Regions from separate parts of the Homo sapiens genome. Here region 1 is linked to region 2. The links are contacts of gene promoters, found by promoter capture Hi-C in blood cells and fetal thymus (Javierre and others, 2016). All regions are on one chromosome and are shown on one strand. The core of a region is centred on a gene start or on the middle of the fragment in contact, and the rest is flanking DNA. Distances in the headings are between cores, read along the strand shown.

The links. Contacts are between HindIII fragments. The CHiCAGO score rates a contact against its expected background, and 5 or more counts as called.
Region 1: the fragment with the promoter of HAO2 here is called in contact with the fragment with the promoter of HSD3B2 in region 2 in 2 of 17 cell types (neutrophils and monocytes); the score reaches 9.5 in neutrophils.

Annotation. Positions count from the first base shown.
Region 1 is chr1:119,366,244-119,371,212 of GRCh38, reverse strand. HAO2 (hydroxyacid oxidase 2) reads right to left here and starts at 2,428. Exons shown (of 8, transcript NM_016527.4): 1 at 2,311-2,428. HAO2-IT1 (HAO2 intronic transcript 1) reads right to left here and starts at 2,267. Exons shown (of 2, transcript NR_046780.1): 1 at 2,205-2,267; 2 at 882-1,129. The HindIII fragment of the contact is 4,151 bases long and covers 1,844-4,969 here.
Region 2 is chr1:119,412,796-119,417,990 of GRCh38, reverse strand. HSD3B2 (hydroxy-delta-5-steroid dehydrogenase, 3 beta- and steroid delta-isomerase 2) reads right to left here and starts at 2,841. Exons shown (of 4, transcript NM_000198.4): 1 at 2,789-2,841; 2 at 2,430-2,660. The coding sequence starts at 2,571. RefSeq lists an enhancer at 1,875-3,074 and promoters at 2,647-3,364, 2,788-3,914. The HindIII fragment of the contact is 2,795 bases long and covers 2,120-4,914 here.

The DNA of each region.
Region 1 (4,969 bases), core at 1,179-3,678, 46 kb after region 2:
CTGGAATCCTTCTGACTTGTTTCCAATGTCTTTGAGCCAGTATGGAGTGTTACTGGTATGGGGGAGACATTTAAGTCTCTGTTCTGAATGGTCAGAGAGTTGCATAAAATGAGCTTGGTCAATTCCCACAAAATCCAGGCCATTGGGAAAGGAGTTCTATGTGACACTGTGAGATCACTGCACCTGCCTCTTCATCTGCTCAACAAGGATAGAATGTGCAAAACAGACATCAGAATTCACACAAAGCTCCAAAACAGGCTCTGACGTCTACTCTGTCCACTAGTGACTTCAGGTCTTGCAGGTGTACCTATATCTCACAGTGGCAATCACTGGGTTGTAGCAGGAGAGAGAGGAGAAAAGGCAGAGCAGTTGGGGATGGAAGAGCCCAGCTATGGAGTGCAGTTTTTTCTCTCTTTGCCTTCCTCCTGGCTTCTCTGTCTACGGCAACTACCCAGACTGTGTTTCTGAAGGCCATTGCTTTCCACCGATCAACTGTGCCCAAGGAACTAATGACTGAGGGAGTCAGTGGAGTAGAGAAGACAGACTATATTATAAGCTTTGGCACTTGGCAAACATAGGCTGAAATCTCAGCTCTACTACTGGCTCACCACGGTTCTGTGCAAAATTTATTTGTTAAAGGAGAATATTAACATCCATCCCATAGGGCTGCCATGAGGACTAAGCAGTATGGCCCCTTTGAAATTTCTAGAACAGTGCCTTGTATAGACTAGATTGTTAATAAAGGCAGCTCCATGTTCATTATTCCTCCTGTTGATGACATGTGTGATTTCATCTGAGGCTCTGGAAGTGGAAAGCTGCTTCAGGATTTGAGTATTTCTGTCATAGTATAATTTAAACCCTCTGTCAGATTTACTCATTAGTTTATCCAAGAAGGTTTATTGACACACACTCTCAGCCAGGGTGGCGGAGGCATATACTGCTCCCCACATGCTTAACATTTCGCTGTTGCTTAAATACAGGCATGGCTCTGTGACTAGTTCTTCTGGCCAATGGCCTGGGAGTGGGAATAGCAGGTGTGAATTCTAGGCCAAGGATTGAAGAGCTGGTATGTGACCCTCCAGCTTTGTTTCCTCCTCTACAGCGATCCTCCATCCTCAAGAAGGCAAAGCTGTAAGAGAAAGGCCACTTGGATTCCCAAAACGCCATTTGGAAAAGGGTAGCCCTGGAGATCAGCTGATATTGTGTAAGGAAGAAATAAATATTTATGTGTTATCTCACTAAGTTGTTAAGGTTTATTCTTTACTATAACATAGCCTGATTTAACATAATATATCAAAGTATTATGCTAAACACTAGAGATATGGGGGGGGACCTTTATCACATCAGTTTCTGCTCTCAAGAAGCTTACAGTCGAAGAAGACAGACTTTCATAGCTCATCATTTGATAGCTGATACGATTTAGAGTACAACAGGAGTCCCTTTGAGGGGAGAGTTACCTGGGAATTTGGCAATATTCCCATTACCTCTCAAATGATATACCACAAGTGATGTTCCACTCAATCTATTCTAGACAAGCTCCAATTCTCATCTATCTTTAAATTAGGTTATTACTGTCTATCTCATAGGGATCTTGTGAGAATTGAAGGATCTTGTAAAATGCAGAATATAGTAGTAGTTAAGAATAAAAGTTTGCGGATTTTGCTTCCTGCTAATGGACGCTTTATTCTGTTCCATTGATCTGTTATCTATCTTTATACCAGTACCTCCCTGTCTTCATTAGCGTTCTTGGCAGTTCTCCGCAGGTTGATCTGTAGATTCAACTTAACACAATCAGAGGCTCTTCATTAGTGGGACTTTGTAACCCATTTGTTCCAAATAAGCTTATTGCTCAAAGGAACTACATTGTTTGAGACACATTAACTTCTTTACTTTTTTAGGAGCATAGCCATGTCACTGTTTTCTTTTGCTTGTGGCCGGGAAGCAGTGGTCAGAATACTAAATATATCCCTGAAGGCAATAGCAATACCTTTTAGGTTTTCAGAACGCTGTCAAGTGAAAACATTTTAACCCATTTTTCCTCCTATGGACACCCACGAATATTCCACCATACAATTCTAAGACTCAACTTCCTAGACTTAACCTTCTCTGTCTGTATCCTTTTTGAAACCAAATCTTCCTTTGCCCATGCCCTCTGAGTTCCCTAACACCTGTCTCCCTAGGACCATCTTTGCCAAGGTCCTTGCCTTGCAAACTCATAGTTGGCTTCCACGATATCTTCCATTCCCATCCTATCTGGCACTTCATCACCCTTCTCAGTTCCAAGCACACAGAACACACTCAATGACAAACCTTATTCTAATGTCTTCCAGTCCTCAGGGAAAGAAGTGTTTAGACGCAGCCACTCAAAGCCTGGCTCACTGCCGGAGGTGTTAGGAAACACACCACATCACTACCCACAGTTCAGGCTAAAGAAGAGGCTGAAGTCTCAAAGTTAATCTTTTAATGAAAACATCCAGCTTAGCAGTAAATAAGCAACTAGGCCAGAGCAAGGTTGACTTTGAAAGAATTTTGCTGACTTTGCAAATTTACTTCAAAATTAAGTGAAGTTTATTACAAAATTAAACTTCAAAGTGAAGTTGTAATTTCCTACCTGAAATCACCCATTCCCTACCTCTAAATTCAAACTTGATGTTGTCCTCTGCTCATCACAGATTGTTAGAGGTAGGGAGTGGATGATTTCAGGTAGGAAATTACAAAAGTCCCCGGGTTGGAGGAGGGGCTTTTTGTGGTGATGGGGTTGGGGTGGGAGAAGAGCAAGCACAGCCTGGGAGCCCATGGGCAGGACAGCAGTGGGGACCCAGGCCAGGACGGTCCGAGCTTTGGGGATTTTGGAGGGTGCATAGTGTAGAGCCCTCCCTGCCCACAGAACTGTTCTGGGGAAGTAATTATGTCTAGATTAATATGGGAGTCAGGGAGAACCAGTGAAATTTTTGAGTGGAAAATTATTCAGGAATGTAGAAGAAATGCTAGGAAAAGCAAACTTAAAAGTACATGGAAAAATAGAATTAATTTCTCCAGAAGAGTTCTGTAGGGGTCCCAGAAAGGTCACTAATTTGTCCAGGTCTGTTCGTCTCCACTCCTCCCCCAGCTCTTGCCACTGCTCCTTAGTATTGCCACAGCTCACGTGTGTGATGCGCTTACGACGTGCCAGACACACTACACGCATTACTTCATTTGATCTTCACGGAAGGTCAATCTTTTCAAGATTGTCTCTTTTTCAGAAGAGAAAATGAGATTAACGAACATGCCCAAAGCCTTTCAGCAGTAAAGAGCAGAATTGGGATTTGAACCTAGCCTGTAGCCAACACACGGAGCAGAGGAGGCCGAAATCCTGAGCTGTACCGATGACCATAGCAGTGGGGTTTGCCTTTCCTTTAGAACCTGTAGTTAGAGAGCAAAATGATGAATTTACCACTGACTTGTCATACCATCTCCACTCAAGGCTCATTGGCTATTTATTTGGAGGGTAATCCCTACCTGCTATCTAGCCACTAGAGGACAGTATTACCTCAAAAATGCTTTCAAAAGTAGCCAAAATCTGGGTTCTGGAAATTTCTTTTCCATAGCAATTTTCACAATCTCCATAATCAGCCTCTAGGCCATGTCCTCGGTCAGCTCTCACAACACCTGGCCTGCTCACAGTCCCCTGATCCAGACCCTCCCTTGCTGTTTTCCAGACTCCGACTCTGTCTCTCCCTTCCAGAAGGAAGCCTGGTGATGAGCACACACTGGAACATGGTGCTCAAGCTCCAAACTGCAGCCACTCACTCACTAACATCCACATGTTACTTAAATTCTCTGTGCCTCAGTTTCCTCATAATACCTCCCACACTGTAATGAGAAGTAAGTGAGTTAATACTTAAAAGATGCTGGCAGTAGATAGAAAGAACAGTAGAGCTTCTCATGAGAGATTCTCAAGTTTGAAATAATGACCTTCTTGGAGACCTTTTAAATCTGATGATTGCACTGAGTTAAAGAACATCATCTCTACAAGGTAACACACTCTAATATCAGCCTCTAATGTTTGCACCTAAGTGAACTAATCTCAAATAGGGGATATAGGGCCACAGGCAGAGCTATTTGAGGCAGCATTTTTGCAGCACCTCTTGAATTCCAGAGAATGGGTCCATGGATAAGACAGACCAGCTTTGGACCCACCAGCAGGCTTGGAGAATGTTTCAGGATGAGGTTATGAAAAGATATTGGTTTTATTCAGGTGGTCATAGGGTACCCATTGAGCAATATGCCTGCTTATTTTGGATGAAGAGAAATGTCGGGTCATTCTTGAGCTGTCATGACCTAGTCTCTTAGAAAGCAAATGTAGTTTCACAGTAGAATAGAATGCCAAAATTCTTCTTAATGGAGGGGATTAAAAACATGCTAAGTCCTCCTGATCACTGTGGTCCTGTCCTAATCCAGCCATCTATTTTTCCTGAGGTAATTCTGGAAGTCAGGATGAGCCCAGGACTTTGCAGTCTGTGCTCAAGCCCATCAGGGTTAAAGATGAACACTTTGGTGCTGTGGTCAGGTTAATATTAGGTTGGTGCAAAAGTAACCGTGGTTTTGCTATTGAAAGTAATTAATGCAAACTTGGGTCATTGCAAACTGAAGCCAAACCAGTCATAGATGGCTAAGTCAAACTAAAGACAGTTTGCGTATTTCTGCAGCCACCAAGCCCCTTATAGGCTGTGAACCTCTTTGTAATGGCTACCCGGTGGATGGGGGCAGCTCTGCAGAGTCAGTTACTGGAAGAGATGGGAAGAAAACCTGAAAGAGAGCCTGCTGAAGACCTTAGTCCAAGGCCAATGACTTCTGTCATAGGGCTGCATTGTTTGTGTTCGCTTTATAGGGTCTAAAGTAGGAAGGAAGTGTGTCCCTCTAGCTGCTGAGCTTGCTACATAGATCAGATCTGACTGGAGGAAGCGGGGTTTCTGGATGTGAAGATGAG
Region 2 (5,195 bases), core at 1,592-4,091:
CTTATTTCCTTTTACAGCTATCTCGTGAGGTAGGTATTCTGAGTCCCACTTTATTGGTGAGGAAACTGAGGCTCAGAGAGGTTAAGGGACAGATCTAAAGTCAATTTTCTAGTGAAGGCTCAAACCTGCCCATTCCACCTGCCATTTTTGTACCCTGTACCCCAGGTGCAGGAATAGCTGTTTAGAATCAACTTTTCTGAGAAAGAGTAAGAATAAGCCAGTTTAACTGAAAATGCCCACAAAGGCCAAAGAACAGTGAGAGCGAAATTCAGAATGAAAAATTCAAGGCTGGAGAAATTCCTTCCTGGGATACAGGTGGGACCATTTGCTCTTCTGATGCCTCTGCCTTGTTTTGTCTACTCCCAGCCCCTTCCCACTGTCAGGCAACTCCAAGAAGGCCCTGGAATGGTGGAGGCAGGGAAGAGGCTGCTGGGGAGGAGGTGGGTGTCAGCCCGAGAGTGGAATTTTCTCTGGTTGTATTTCCACCTCTACCTTTTCTACTCCCTTCATCTGCTTCTCCTTTGCTGCCGACTTTAGACAGACTGGCTCAAAGGAATTGCCATTTCATAGCAGAAGTCCAAAGCCGATAGAAAATGACTCTTCCCCGGTGAGTTTCCATGGATCTAGAGAGACCAGAAAAGCGCAATTTTTGATGGAGTCTTAGCTCCCTCCTTCTCCAAGGCACTGTGGACTTGGCAAGTGTTTCATGTAGACTAAATTCAGTTGCTTTTGTGTTGTGTGTTGGGCTGGAGGGAGGCTCAGAGAAGCTGCTAGACAAACTACTACTTAAGAGCACAGAAGCTGCACTAGACTGCCTGGATTCAAATCCAGCTTTGCCGTAATCTAACTTGGGACCTTCGACAAGTTGATTAACCTCTCTGTGTCTGTCTCCTCATCTATAAAAAAGGAGGATAATAGTATTACCCATCTCATAGGGTTGTTATGGGAAGTAAATGAGTCAGCACATGCAAAACCTTTAGCACAGTGCCTGGCACAGAAAGAACACTGAAAGGATTCTCTGTTTTTATCTTCATACAGGCCCTGCCCATCCATTATGCTCCCTGCATTTTCACCATAGCAGAACTCTTCCTCTAGACTGAGCATTGCTTTTTCCTGGTATCAGATGTTAGATTGTAAATATTGCTGAGACATAAGGATTACAAACATTTAATATCAGTCATGTGTTAATATCTGTTCACTATTAGAACAGAGAGTGGAGGAAATTGGACATTTAAAGAGGTCAGAGAAGAGTGAAAGAAGAGGAGAGTGTCAAGGGGAGCTTCTGTGTGAACAGGGCAGGACCTTCTAGGCAGCCAGAACCTGCATGAAGAAGATACATAGTTCCCCCAGTCCCCTGGGTTGGGAGGAAAACATGGAATTGGTTTGGGGCACACAGAGAGGCAAAGGGAGAGACTGAAGACCCACCAAGGATTAGCCCGGGGGTCAAGTGATGAAGCTTCTGGAATGAAGCTCTGGTCTGAGCTCTGCTACACATTAATCAGCTGTTCTTGGCAAGTAACTTTATGTTTCTGGAACTTGATGGGTTCATTGTCCAGTTGGAGGTGACCCCTTTTCTACCTTCCTCACAGGGTTATTTGCACAAAGAGTTACTACAGCAAATTCTGCAGTCAATTTATTTGGAGTATTGAACAACAGATACAAATGGTTTTTTTTTAAAAAGGCTATATATGAGAAATATAAATGAGGCATGTTGGCCTCATACTGCCTTTTACTCTGTCTCTGCTCTGTGCCGTGCACTTGTGCATGCTCTCTTTCTCTCTTTCTCTCTCTCTCACTGATGATCTCTCTCACTTTCACTCTCTCTCTCTTGCTGATGCTCTCCCTCACACTATCTTTCTCATTCATTCTCTGTCTTTCTCATTCTCTGTCTCTGACCTTCTTTCCCCCTCATTTTCTTTCTCTGTCTGACACACACACACAATTACACACACATCCGTACCTTCACTTCCTTTTATTTTGCCCTCACTAAAGATACTAAGGAAGCTATAAAATGAAATGAAGCCTGGGGCAGTCTAGACAGGCAGGACCCACTGGTGAGGTCTCCAGGTAAATGATGTCCTTTGTGAATGTCGCACAGCAATCGCCAAGACAAAAAGCTTCAGAACATAAGAGTTGTAGACAAGAAGGAGAACTCATGTGTGACTCTCTAGAAGAGAAGAAAAGGGGCCTTGAGGCTGACATGGCTGCCTCTCAAGTTCTGCGTCAGGGCCAGAATCCAGTCTCTGGACACCCCATCCAGTATCTTTCACACTATACCATTTTATTCTATTTCCTTTCTGATGACTTTAGATGTGTGACTGGCTTTCATTTGGCTACAACTTTCCTTAACTTGCTAGACAAGGTCAACCTCCCCACACCCATGCAGAGTTTAAGATGGAGCCACAGACCCATGACTCAAGTTTACTTACTAGAAAATTCCTCTCTCAATTCTGGTCTGAAGGCCTTGTCCAAGGCCCTGATCTCCTTCAGTTCCTTCTCTTCCACCAACAGGCGGACGATCCTCTGACCCAGAAGCCCTCCTGCTCCTGTCACAAGGCAGCTCCAGCCCATCGTGGCCAATCCAAAGTAGCAGGAAACACTTGCCAGGAAACAGAAGATGCTGGAGAGCAGATCTGATTCTAGCGTGACCCAGAAGAGGGCTAAAAACAAGAGGTAAAATGGTTATACACTCAGCAGATGCCTTATTTTCCTCCACCCCATTTTTTACAAAAATTCCATGACCCCACAACTGCCAGGAGTAGTTGAAAGAAAAGGAGAAAGCTCTAACCGTAACTTAGATTGTTAAAAGCTGGACAGAGGAGTCCAAGTCCTTACTGCCTCATCCCTGGAGGAAGGACTGGAGCTTTATGCTCTGTGGCTTGTGTCTCAGCCCTTATTACCTTGAACTCCTGCCACATACTCATTGCTCCCTCCTCCTCCAGAATCCCTTTTCTCAGAATAATAGTGACCTTTAGGTTATATCTCTAATTCTTCCCAGGAACAGGAAGAGAAATCCAATCTTAAGGCCACAGTGTGATAAAGAGTCTTGGCTTTAGCCTTAACAGAACACTGGTCAGTTGATACCAGCTGTCTGGGATCTGCAATCTGTGAACTTAAACCAAACTGGGAGAAGTCTCCAAGTGCAATGTAAATGTTGTCCTTGTACAGTAAATCCACCTGGAGGGAGATCTATTTTAGCCCATTATCAACTCTCTGAGAGTGTCATTTGAAACGTCACTGCTGTCTTGCAAAGTTTAGAAATTTTCAATGGTGACAGCTCCAATCACTAAGTTTTATGTGAGGTGACTTTCTTTTCCACCCAATATATCCAAAACCTCAATTGCAATTTTTCCCTGGAGAGCTCTGGGTTCCTAATGGAAGAACCTCATTGAAGGAAAGGTATCTAGTGATAACGAATTAATCATATGGCCTGTAATACAAGTGTGGGGATTTGTAGTTGTATGCCCAATGACTCTAATCATAGATATTTGCACTCATCTTACATTTTTGGCTGCAAAACCATTCTTAGCAAATTGTTGAACTGAAGATGCTATGAATGCTTCTGAAACCTATGCCCCAGTCTGCCCAAACATCACTGCCATAAACTCCCCAAGACACTTTTCTCTACTTAAAAAAATAGAGATGTAGTTTTTTTAAGTAGATGTAATCTGGGCATTACAAGGCCCAGATCTTAAGCGTTCAGTGTACACTTAAGTGTTCATTGTCAATGAACCTTGACAGTTATATATGTCCATGTAAGTACCAACGAAAAGAAGACCACCATTTCCTTCACTCCAGAAAGTTTTATCTGCCTGTTCTTAGTCAATTGCCTGCCCTCCCCCGAGTTTACCTGGTAGGCAATTACTTTCTGATTTTTATTCCCACAGAGTTCCCACTTTATTCCTATATTTTCCTAATTTTTTCTTCTAAGATCTTTGTGATTCTGGATATATATTTAAATATAAAATCATTCTGAACTGAAGTTTTGTTCATGGAGTACAGAAAAATTGACCACTGATTGTCTCTATTGTTTGTTCATTTTTCTATTTCATGATTTTCATTATTTTTATTATTGGCTTAAATGTTTATTAACTTTGGGTTTATTTTACTCTTCTTTTTCAGGGTTCTTATGATAAAAGCATAGATAATTGACTTTACTTCTTTGCTCATTTCCACCATAGGCATTTAAAGTTGTAAATTTCTCTCTAAACACTATGTTAGCTGTATCCAACATTTTGATGCATTGGGTTATCATTATTCAGTTACTGACGTTTTGAATTTTTTCTTGTGATGTCTTCTTTGACCCAAGTGTTATTGAGAAGCATGTTGCATGTTTTCTAAAACTGGGGATTTTCTTATTGTTATGTATTTCTAATTAAATATTATTGTGGCCAGAGCATATACTCTGTATGATTTTGATTCTTTGATATATATTGAGATTTGTTTTATGGTCCAGCCTATGGTCTATGTTGGTGGAAATGCCATAAGCACTTCAAAAGAATGCTTTCTGAAGTTGTTGGAAGTCATACTCTACAAATGATTTAGCTTGACTCCCCATTCTGGGTCTTGCCTTTCTCCTGTGTGTAGACATTCACCTTCTACTTGGAACCTGGCTGCCAATGCTTCAAACCCACTTGCCTAGGAAAGGTTGGTCCTGTGATGCAAGGTGTAGCAGCTTGTCTTCTGAAGCTCTCAGAACTAGACACGGGCCCTGGGACTTGTGGAGCACTATCTGAAACCACCCAGGTGCATCACACACCTTTGCCTGCCATATCAGATGCTGGAGTGCACCTTACAGACCCCCATGACCTTCAGGGTGGGACCAAATGTTCCTTCAGCTGTTGAGAGTTCTGGAGGCTCTTAGAGTTCAGGCAGTGTCTCTTGGAGTCTGAGTGGAAGCAATAACTGTAAGCTTTCTTTAAACCAATAAATATTTTGCTTTCTTTAGGAAAGTGAGCAGTAGGACAAAGAGCAAGGCTGCTGGGGGCCACACTACCAACTTTCTGTTTTTAAACAGCTTTACTGAAGTATAATTGACATATTATAACATTCCCATTTTAAGTGTACAGTTCAATTATTTTTAGTAAAATTTTAGACTTGTGTAACCATCATCACAATCCTGTTTTGGAACATTTCTATCTTTCCTAAGAAATCCCTCATGCTTATCATTTGCCACCTCTTATTCCCAGCCCCCA